Linked DNA regions of Homo sapiens: region 1 is linked to region 2. The links are contacts of gene promoters, found by promoter capture Hi-C in human tissues and cell types (Jung and others, 2019). All regions are on one chromosome and are shown on one strand. Each heading gives the region's core, a stretch centred on a gene start or on the middle of the fragment in contact. The rest is flanking DNA. Distances are from core to core; before and after follow the strand shown. Region 1 holds the start of CLEC4A (C-type lectin domain family 4 member A). Region 2 holds the start of FAM90A1 (family with sequence similarity 90 member A1).

What was found. The method cuts DNA at HindIII sites, captures the fragments that hold promoters and counts their contacts. A contact is called where the count stands out against the background at its distance.
Region 1: the fragment with the promoter of CLEC4A here is called in contact with the fragment with the promoter of FAM90A1 in region 2 in 1 of the 25 tissues and cell types used here (mesendoderm cells).

What each region holds. Positions count from the first base shown.
Region 1 is chr12:8,121,042-8,126,493 of GRCh38, reverse strand. CLEC4A (C-type lectin domain family 4 member A) reads right to left here and starts at 2,877. Exons shown (of 6, transcript NM_016184.4): 1 at 2,534-2,877; 2 at 817-933. The coding sequence starts at 2,615. RefSeq lists an enhancer at 2,958-3,007. The HindIII fragment of the contact is 11,068 bases long and covers 1-5,095 here.
Region 2 is chr12:8,226,028-8,231,380 of GRCh38, reverse strand. FAM90A1 (family with sequence similarity 90 member A1) reads left to right here and starts at 3,763. Exons shown (of 7, transcript NM_018088.3): 1 at 3,763-3,901; 2 at 4,903-5,109. It also overlaps the pseudogene ALG1L10P and the pseudogene FAM86FP. RefSeq lists an enhancer at 4,152-4,201. The HindIII fragment of the contact is 5,625 bases long and covers 1-4,935 here.

The DNA of each region.
Region 1 (5,452 bases), core at 1,628-4,127, 100 kb after region 2:
AATCCCAGCACGTTAGGAGGCTGAGGTAGGCAGACTGCTTGAGCCCAGGAGTTCAGGACAAGGCCAGGAAACATGAGAAAACCCTGTCTCTACTAAAAATACAAAAAAAAAAAAAAAAAAAATTAGCTGAGCATAGTGATGCACACCTGTAATCCCAGCTACTTGGGAGGCTGGGGTGGGAGAATCGCTTGAACCTGGGAGGTGGAGGTTGCAGTGAGCCAAGATTGCACCAATGCACTCCAGCCTGGGTGACAGAACCAGGGGGAATAAAACTCAACAAATGCTGAAAGCCAAAGATACGCAGCAATCCACCTAATTTGCAAAATTGACTTTTAGATCCCACACAGTCTTGAGCAGGGCAGGAATAATCAGAGTAAAAGCCAGTGGAGAACTCTTCCTGAAATATTTCTTCCCATCTCCTTGTTGTCTACCTGCTCATCCCAAAACATAAATGTCTGTGCATTCAAATCAGACTGGCCTGATAAATGCTACCAAGGAAACATAGATTTGTCCTCACTTACATAGTGTCTAGTATAGAGATGATGCCCCATAGATTTCACTCTACAACACAAATACATACACCCACATTTATGCTTCAGTTTCTCTAAATGAGAAGGGATTCCATTATTTTTACAGGACAGTAACTAAATCCAAATAAAGAGCAAAATTCACAGTGGATTCCCATGAATTATGTCTCCCCAGAGAAAATTTCATTTCAGATTTCTGGATAAGCTCATTTTCAAAAGTCAGTTTTTAAAGGATACCCTCTGTTCATGGACAGCAGATATTGCTTATTGGTTCAGTTGGCATACTTACTGACAAAAGCAATAAAGAATGAGATTGCCAATAGCAGGAAAAATATCAACAGTGAGGCACAAAGCAGCTTGGGGAATCCGGTATTACTTTTGTGAGGGGCAGTCCTCTCCTTGGAAGCTGAAGAAGAAGCCAAATTAGTTTTATCAGTAATAAGTTTGGTCTTTACTTCCTCTTCTTCCTCCTCCTCTTTCTCTCTCTTTTCTTGGATGACACACAGTTACTAACGGTATGACATTTGAAATCACATGAGAATAGGAATAGAAAGGATATAATAATATTCACTGTAGAAACTTTAAAAAATACATAAAAGTACGAATTCCTACAATTGAGGATAACTGTTATGCCATATAACTTATAATATACCATAATATTTTGGTATATATCTTTCTAGCAATTTTTTGAATGTATATATACACATATGCAAATTTTCCCACGATTGACATACCATAAATACTGATTTCTGACCTATTATTTTCCTTTACACTATATCATGAACATTTTTCATACCATTATATTTTCTTCTTTAACACTCCTTATTATGGTTGCATAGTATTTCATCATATATTTAAATAATGGTTTCCAACTTTAAATAATGCTATAGCAAATAAATCTTTATAATCATTCCTCATCACATGTTTAGAATAAAGTCAGTCTTTTTAGTTACCATCTCATGGTTAGGAATCACTTTCTTCGAGTTATGATATTTTGTCAAATGATGGGGGAAAAAAATTCAGTATTATATAATATGATTACATTTTTAGTAAAATACATATGCACATTATATGTATTTGTATGTGGAAGGATATTCACTAAATTGCAAATTATGATTTTCTCTAGATGATAAGAGTAATTATAATTCAAATATCTGTGTACCTCTGGTTAATTTTTTCTACAATGAACATTAATACTTGTGTAATAAAGAAATTATATAAAGTTTTTAAGGAGAAAAAATTTCCCTAAGTGCTCTCCACACCTTCACAGAGGTATTTTAGAAAGCGTAACTATAGTCCTGACCCCTTCCCCCATAGTTTCTTGTACTCTATATACATTCTTTTCTCTCTTTTGCTCTATACTTGAGATATCACACATGACACCCAAATCACCTTGCATCTACTCCCAAACGTAACAGAGTCTGTCTCAGAGATGCAACACGCAATAGGTTCTCTGATTTCAGAAAAAGTTTCCTGGAGATTTAAGAGACTTTCTTTGTAGACTTTCTAGTCTTTCATTTGCAAAGGCCTTTTGTTACATTTCCATCCATTACCAACAAATATACCCTCACCACTGTCCACCCAAACTCTTTCCCTCTAACTGATCAAAAAACAAATCTCACAAATTCATCAGGACCCCCTGCATCTGGATTGATGGTTTCAGAAGCTGTACTCAATCTCTTAACCCCAGCCCCACTCAGCCTCAGAAAACACAGGGGCATCAGAGCACTCGCCTTAGCTCAGAACTGGAGTGGATTTCTCTCACCTCTGTTTCAGTAAGCAGAGTGGAGGCTGAAGAGAGTGGCACAAAATCTTTTCTTCTCCACAATACAAATGTACACCCCGTAATGCGTATCTGCAGGCCACTCAATCTTCTGGGACTCTTGTGTTTCCCAGACATACTCAATCAGACAACCAGCAACTGAAAACACCTATGCCTTATTCATAAACCCTCTCCTCATCCTTCACCTCGTCATTCACTCTGACCCCTAGAAAATGATCTTTACCTGCAGAAGAGGCTGTGTTGATGCCTGAGGACTTGAATTCATTTTTGAACCTCACTTCAGCATAAGTGATTTCCGAAGTCATAATGGGAAGAGAGCTTCTGCTTTCTTCAGAAAATCTGTTTCAGATCTTTCTTAAAACATCTTATAAACAGGAACCAAACATGGTGGTAAATTACCTCCTTCCTTTCACTCAACTAGTGGAGAGCAGAGGCACCAGATAGGCACATATCCTCAAGAGGGGTCTCATGAGAACTAAGAACCACAATAAAAACTAAAAACCGCAGTTCACAGAAGCCCTTTCCTCAGGACCAGTATAGTGAGAATCACAGCCTTGAAACAAATGCAAGCAAATGCAATAAAAGTGGGAACTCAAAGGGTTGCGGAAAGAGGAAGAAAAATAAAAGAAGAACCAAGCACTTAGAGTCTTTCTGGAGAACTGCGTTTTTCACCAGTAAAAAATACAATTTCTGTGCTTCCACACACAAATGTAATTACTTTTGACCAAACATCCTGAACATAGACTTATGTTGCATTCATCTCATCAATTTTGACTGATCAGGCAACTTGTTAGTACCACATTCTAAGAGTATCATTGACACAAAACTCACATATCAGCCTCCCCACCTTCACGAATTAGTTTCCTGTAGCATGGTGGGGATGGCAAAGTTTAAACCCCATGTCTTCTGAAGCTGTTCCTCCATGCTCTCTGTGTTTCCTTGTTGGTAACTAACTCTATCAAAAGTCTGCATTCATCTTGCTAGAATCTCCAGAAAGCAGCTCCCTTTACTGGATGTTGGAGGAGAGGGAAGGCCAGCCTTTATTCCATGCTTCCCTAACCTTTTAATCGCCACATCACCTCCAATATATATGACTATTTTTTAACAGTTAGGAGAATTATATAGAATCACAGTATAGAAGGGGATAAACTTAAACAAAGTACTAAATATGACTTTTTCCAAAGGCCTAGAAGAAAACACTCCAAATATTAAATCCTTCATGTGGAATCTCTCCATAGACATGCTCCCAGCTCACACCTGGATTCTCTGCCCTCAACTCTCCGCAAATGATCCTCCTTTTAATCTCCCCCAGCTGATTCCTTCTCCTGCATAACACACATGCATACATGCATGCACACACACACAAACACACACGTCTATATTTCTATATTATTTCTATATCTAAATATATTGAACACCATGAGTTCACACTAATTCCTCTAATTCCAATCTAACACCACAAGTTTCATTCTAGTTTTCTCCCTTCCCACATTCCTAACTCCTTTCTGTGACACTAAGAAACCTGCTTTCATTGTCTTTCACTTATTCCTTATTTGATCAATCTCCTGGATGTCGTCAATCTCCCACCTGCTAAGATGTCCCTCTCTTCCTAGTTGGGCTCTGACTCCCCAGTCCAAGCCACCATCCCCTGCGCGGATGCCCTCCCTCCTCACTCTGAGAGTGCCGGCAAAGGGCCAGCCCACTCCCCACCCCCATGAACATCCCCCAACAAACATCCCCCTCACCCTGCCAAGGCTCTGACTCCCTGTGCTAGGCCATTCCTCTGCAGGAAAGCCCTCCTCACTCTGCTTGCACTCTGATTCCTGATGCTGGTCCCCTAGTCACCACTTAGACCCCCTTAGGTTCTAATGCTCCACACAAGGTCACCCTATGGGTGGAAGCCCTCCTCACCCTGGAGGGGTCTGATTTCCTCACCGGGCTATCCTACCACATGGACCACCTCCTTATCCTGCTAAGTTTCTGAAACCCACACCAAGTCCTCCCTCTGCATAGAAGCTTTCTTCATCCTGCTTGGGCTCTGACACTCCATGCAGGTCCTCCATCCCCCAGCAATAATGTCCATCTTACCCTACTTAGGATCTGAGTTCCCTCACTGGGCTACCCCACCACATGGACACCCTCCTTATCATGCTTGGTCTCTGAAACCACACCAGGTCTACCCTCTGCAAGGATGCTCTCTCTCCTCATCCTGCTTAAGTGCTGAGTCCCAACCCCAACTGGGCCAACACTAGGCATGGGTGCCCTCCTCACCTCTCCCACATGCTGACATACATACCAGGCTGGCCCTAGAGTACTCTGCTCAGCCATTTGCGACTCTGACTCCCTATAGAAGGTAACCTCATACATGGATGCCCTCCTCACCCTGCTTGCACTCCAACTCACTGCACCTGACTATCCCACCACATAGATGCCTTCTTTACCTCTCAGACTCTGACCTCTCACATCAGGCTACCCCTACTATGGACACCCTCCTCAATCTTATCCTCTGACACCCTGCACTGGGCCATTGCCAGGAGTGGACATCTCCTCGCTCTGGTTCCCCATGCCAGGACACTTTCCCACCCCTAAGGGATGTTCTTCTCACTCTGCTTGGGCTCCAGAACCACTGTCAAGCCAATACCCTGCATAGTCACCCTTCTCACCCTGCTAAAGCTCTCCCCCTGTGCCAGGCCACTGCTGCTCTCCCAGCCACCTCACCATAGACACCTATCTTGCTACTGCTTTATTTAGAATCAAATTATTTAGTAAGAAAAGGGAAAGGGGAATGACAAAGCATAAGGGAAGGATAAGGGAATTTTAAGTTCTCCACAAATTAATGATTGGGCCTAACCAGCACATGCACGTAGACAGGTATACATGCACACATATTCCCTGAAATAACAATCATTGATTCTCAGAGTCTTTACAATCTAAGCTCATAATTAGAAAGCAAACCATATTCCTAAAACTATAGCTCTCTCCCTGGAATAAGTCACATTATAACTGGATTACACCGTATCACCAACAACCCCAAAATCCAAGTGGCTTACAACAACAAACATGTATTTCTCACTTACATTACACTTGTGCTTAGGGCCACCTTGGAGTTGACTGCAACTCTGCTTGGCCCCTCTCCAAGTGT
Region 2 (5,353 bases), core at 2,514-5,013:
ACGTTCCCCTGTGAGCACCCTCCTCTCGGCCTCTGGCCAACACAGTCCCACCCATCTGTGGGTAACAAACGGGTGTGTGTGTTCTTTTCAGCCTTGCTAAACTGTCTGAATCAAGGATCACAAACTACAGCCTGCAGGCCAAAGCCAGCCCACAGCCTGTGTTTGTAAATAAAGCTTTATTGGAACAAAGCCACACCCCTTAATCTACAGATGATCTGTGGCTACTTTCACACCACAACAGAGTACCATGGTTCTGACAGAGACTGGGGGACCCTGTCTAAATGACTTCTGACCTGGACCTTTACTGAAAATCCTCCCAATCATTCTGTTGACAAGAATGGTGTATTACTTTTTGCAATAAGAAACAAGTAACCTTTGCAGAATTCCACCCATCTTTCAAGGCTGATCCCAGAAGTTCCCTCTGCCCACGCACCTACCTGATCCTGATCACTTCCTAAACTGCAGCCCGGCCCACCCGGCTCCAGCATCATTTGTGGAGTCTCAGCTCCATAAATCCAGAGGGCAGGTGGGGGTGTGTCCTAATTTTCCCGAGCCTACTGTACCGAAACAGGACAGCAGAGTAGGAAGCCTCTGTGACTTCTGCTCCCTCCCTAGCTTTTCCACCAGACCCTGCATGGTCCCACCCTGGCTGTGTGAAGCAGGGATCAGGGAGCGTGGCTCGATGTCAGTCTCCAGAACCCTGTCCACCCTGGCGTGGTGGCAGACATGGCTACCTGCAGCTGAGCTGCCAGTTCCTCTGAGTCCTCAAAGACCAGGCCATTTTCTTTATGTTTCACCAGCTCATGTAAACTGCAGAGAGAACCAAGGGAGCCTGAGAGCTGCCTGGGGAAGACACCAGACCCCTGGGGTGCCCAGCTGGGCTCCCACCCACCCCACGCTCAAGCCAGGCTGGGGGTTGGAACAGGGGGTGTGGTTTCTGGGAGCTGGTTCTTAGATTTGGCATCTGAAGGGTATAAAGGCCTGGGGGGGGTGCACATCAAAATGACCAAATCGATTTGAGGAGAGAGCCTTAAGGAAGGTTTGTACCTTCTGTGCTGGATGCTCTTCAAGGACTGAAGAATTATTTTTGCATGTTTTTCTTAATTCCATGGCCATGGAACAAGTAAAGGCAACCCCCTGGGGACTGGTTCAGCACATAAAAGATGACTTTTCTAGGACACCAGATTTGATCCCGACATTCCCTGAGCTCAGCTCACATGAGGGGCTCGCATCCCTGAATCCCATCCAGGAGCTGGCTCCTGAGCAGGGGCCAAGGGCTCAACTTGTGCTGGGGCTACTGCTTCTAGAATCTCCTCTAACGCCGCCCTTCCAAACACCCGTCTATGCTGGGTGCAGTGAGGCCACAGCATGACACTCATTTAACTCGTTCAAACCCAGCACGTGAGCTTGGCCAAAAGGGACATGGTGGGAGAGAAAAACAAAGAAAACCATGTAAGCCTGCAGGCAATTCCCGCCAATTCTACTCTAGGAGCAAAAGCCCCGAGTGGAGTTCTTGTATTTAAGGTACTTTTTTTTTTCATATTGGGTTGGTGCAAAAGTAATTGCCATTTTTAATGGCAAAAACCGTGATTACTTTTGTACCAACCTAAATATAACATGAGCTCTAAATGGAAGCAACTACTTCAGTGAGGCTCAGCCCAGCCACAGCAACCGCAGGGCTCCTCCTCGTGGCCTCCAGTGTGTGCTGGACTGACCGAGGGGCAGGGCCTCACTGTGGGCAGCTCACTCTGCACTGCTTCCCCCTCAGTGGTGGATCTGTGAAGCTATCCCCAGAAAGATTGGGGTTCTGCTCCTACCACTTGAAGTTCACGGCACACGCAGGCAAACAGCACCTGAACATGTCCACCACCTTCATGGGCAGGTCCAGGCCACTGGAGGATGTGTCCAGAGAGACACCCAGGTCCACTAACCCTGCTAGGCAAGAGGGGTGGGTCAGAGCGCTGGTCTCTGCCCTGGGAACACAAATCCTCCCAGCACAGTGAGACAACTTCCCCCGAGGGGAGTGAAAATTGGATAAGGTCCCCGACAACCCCAAGCACAAGTGGCTTAAGGTGGCCAAGCAGCCACACGGCCTGGGTGGGACATCTGAAAATGTAAGTTGACACTTTTTCTACATAGCCACAATTTGTTTTTTGTTGTTGTTGTTTTGTTTTGTTTTGAGACAGAGTGTCACTCTGTCACCCAGGCTGGAGTGCAGTGGCACAATCTCAGCTCCCTGCAACCTTCACCTCCCAGGTTCACCTCCCGCCTGTAATCCCAGCATTTTGGGAGGCCAAGGCGGGTGGATCACCTGAGGTCAGGAGTTCAAGACCAGCCCGGCCAACATGGTGAAACCCCATCTCTACTAAAAAAAAATACAAAATTAGCGAAGCTAATTCGTGGCAGGTGCCTGTAATCCCAGCTACTCAGGAGGCTGAGGCAGGAGAATCGCTTGAACCCGGGAAGGCAGAGGTTGCAGTGAGCCAAGATCGCGCCATTGCACTCCAGCCTGGGCTACAAGAGCGAAACTCCGTCTCAAAATAATAATAATAATAATAATAATAATAATAATAATAATAATAACAAGAGCGAAACTCCGTCTCAAAATAATAATAATAATAATAATAATAATAATAAACCACATCACACCCACCACAAACCAGCTGTCAGTGTGAAAATAAAGCCAAATAGCTTAACATTTCTAAAGACTAGCTGGGGCTAGGCATGATGGGTCAGGCCTGGAATCTCAGCACTTAGGGAGGCCAAGGCGAGAGGATCACTTGAGGTCAGGAGTTCAAGACCAGCCTGGCCAACATGGTGAAACCCTGTCTCTGCTAAAAATACAAAAATAAGCCAGGTGTTGTGGCGGGCTCCTGTAATCCTGTAATCTACTTGGGAGGCTGAGGTGGGTGAATCGCTTGAACCCAGGAGGCGGAGGTTGCATGAACTGAGATCGTGCACTCCAGCCTAGGCAACGGAGCAAGACTGTCTAAAACAAAGACTAGCTGGAGAATCCTGCCAGGAAAAGGCCCTCAGACTCCAACTGCTCTGCTCACTCGAAGCTGGAAGATGCGGCTCTAGAGACGCATCAGGACCAAGCCACGACTCCCCACTTGGAGAAATCAACGCGGAAAGAGACGGAGGCAAAGGAGAACCATCGCACTGGGAGAGGCGACGCTGTTTGACACATCGTCCCTGTACCTCCCAAAGCCACTGCCCTCCCACACCTGGGCAACAGTGGCCCCAACCCCAGGCCCAGCCCTCCTGCAGGAAGGAAGAGGACTGAATGGAGGGCGTGGCAGACTGAAAGGACGTGGCCTCCTCAAACCCCTTGGTAAAGGGCCTCTGGGGCCACCTGGCAGGGAGGGGCTGGCACACCAGGAAGTAGCCTCCTCCCGGGAGTTCAGCTAGAGCCCAGGTCCTGTCCCCAAGTGGCCTCCAGAGCCACCTTTTCTGAAAAAAGTACATCCTGCCCACCCCTGTTCCCCCTGCTTAAGGCCCCGCGTCCTCCCTGAGCCTCCTGCTGGCCTCTCACCTAGAAGCGGGGGTAGTCCTCGGCCCTCCAGCCAGGGGGTGCAGACCTGGATGTGCTGGAAATGCTTCTGGTGGATGAGGCGGCTGTAATACTCCCTCAGAGGCCCTTTGCCTTCACAGAGAAAAGCAGACACTGCCATGGACCCGTCTCTCTCCGTGCCACGTGGCCCCAGGCCCAAGACACTCCCCCTAGGAGGGATCCTTTTCCCAGAAGCTCCACCCCTCGGCAGCTCCAGTCAGGCCCCATCCGGGCCCTTCCAGAAGCAACCCAGGAGCCCCGAGACCTGCAGGGATGTGTGCACCCTGACCCCTGACGCATAGCCCTGCACCTGCAGCCAGCTGGCCTCGGGCTTGAAAACATGGCGGGGTAAGCACTGGCCTGGCACCCGACCGCCCACTGGGTGGACCCAGCCTTCTGTCTGTGTTGTGCGCAGGGGACACGAGGACTCCCGCTGCCCTGACACAGCCCCCAGATCACATGGCGCAGGTTCCAAGCCGCCCCTGCCCTGCCACAGCCCCCAGAGCACACGGCGCAGGTTCCAAACCACTCCTGGGAGCCTAGAGGCCAAAGGAGGGAGGAGAGCAGGACCAGCAGCTGGCCCAGACCCCGCCTCTTCCCACACCGCTTCTGCTTTTCCCCCTCCTCACTGAGTCATCTTGAAAGGGCTCAGCAGCAGTAACTGAGGGACAGGGGCTCTTCCGTTTGAAAAATTAAAAGAGGCTTGGTTAAGGCAACAATGACATGACCGGGCACAATGGCTCATATCAATAATTCCAGCATATTGGGAGGCCAAGGCAGGTGGATCACCTGAGGTCAGGAGTTCAAGACCAGCCTGGCCAACATGGTGAAACCCTGTTTCTACTAAAAATACCAAAATAAGCTGGGTGTAGTGGGCACCTGTAGTCCCAGCTACTCGGGAGGCTGAGGCATGAGAATTGCTTGACTGTGAGACGCGGAGGTTGCAGTGAGCTGAGATCACACCACTGCACCCCAGCCTGGGCGACAGAGACTGTGTCTCAAAAAAAAAAAAAAAAAAAAAAAAAGACATCAATGAAGAAACAAGAAAAAAAAAAAGATGCTTGGAAACTACTGAAAAATTAGAAAGCTTGGTATGTACAGATTCACATCTGGGCTCCCTGCCCTGCTGTGAAACCCTCTGAGCTTCAGTTTCCCACATGTAAAGCAGTATAAGACCCTATGGCAGAGAGCTGCAGTGGGGATTAAGGAGACAAGATCGTGGGAAGCACAAGGTAAAGGCGGCGTGCCCCTCCCTGGACTCCAATGCCTGGAGTCTCAAGACCAGCTGAAAAGGGAGCCAGGCACTGAAGGACAAAGCGGTGTTGACTTTCTTCATCTGTGTTTCCCAGTGCGCTCCAATTCACGGTGGTTTCCAAGCGCATTCTGGAGGAGAAAACACATGAGTGTGTGGTCAGGGTTCTCTGCTGACAGACCTACCGTGGGGAAGAAAGAGAAGCTCTGAAGATGGATCATGGCCGTGACTGCATGTCAAGGAGAATCTCCATGATGACACGGAGGCCTACGTCGAGATAGAGTAAATATGGTCCAATTAAAAGGTGTCTATTTTACCACATTTTTTAAAACAAAACAAAACACAAAAACAAAAAAGATGGAAAAGAAGACAGGGGTACAGGCACCAGTGTTACATATCTGACGGGGAACATCTATTCTTCAAAGCTTGCAGCTGTACACGTAGGTTTTAGAATGTCTGTCAGCAGTGGACATGATCTTAGAGTGGGCTGTGCAGATAGACCTTTCCGAGTCATGTAATTGGATTAAGTTAATTGTAATTAACCTACA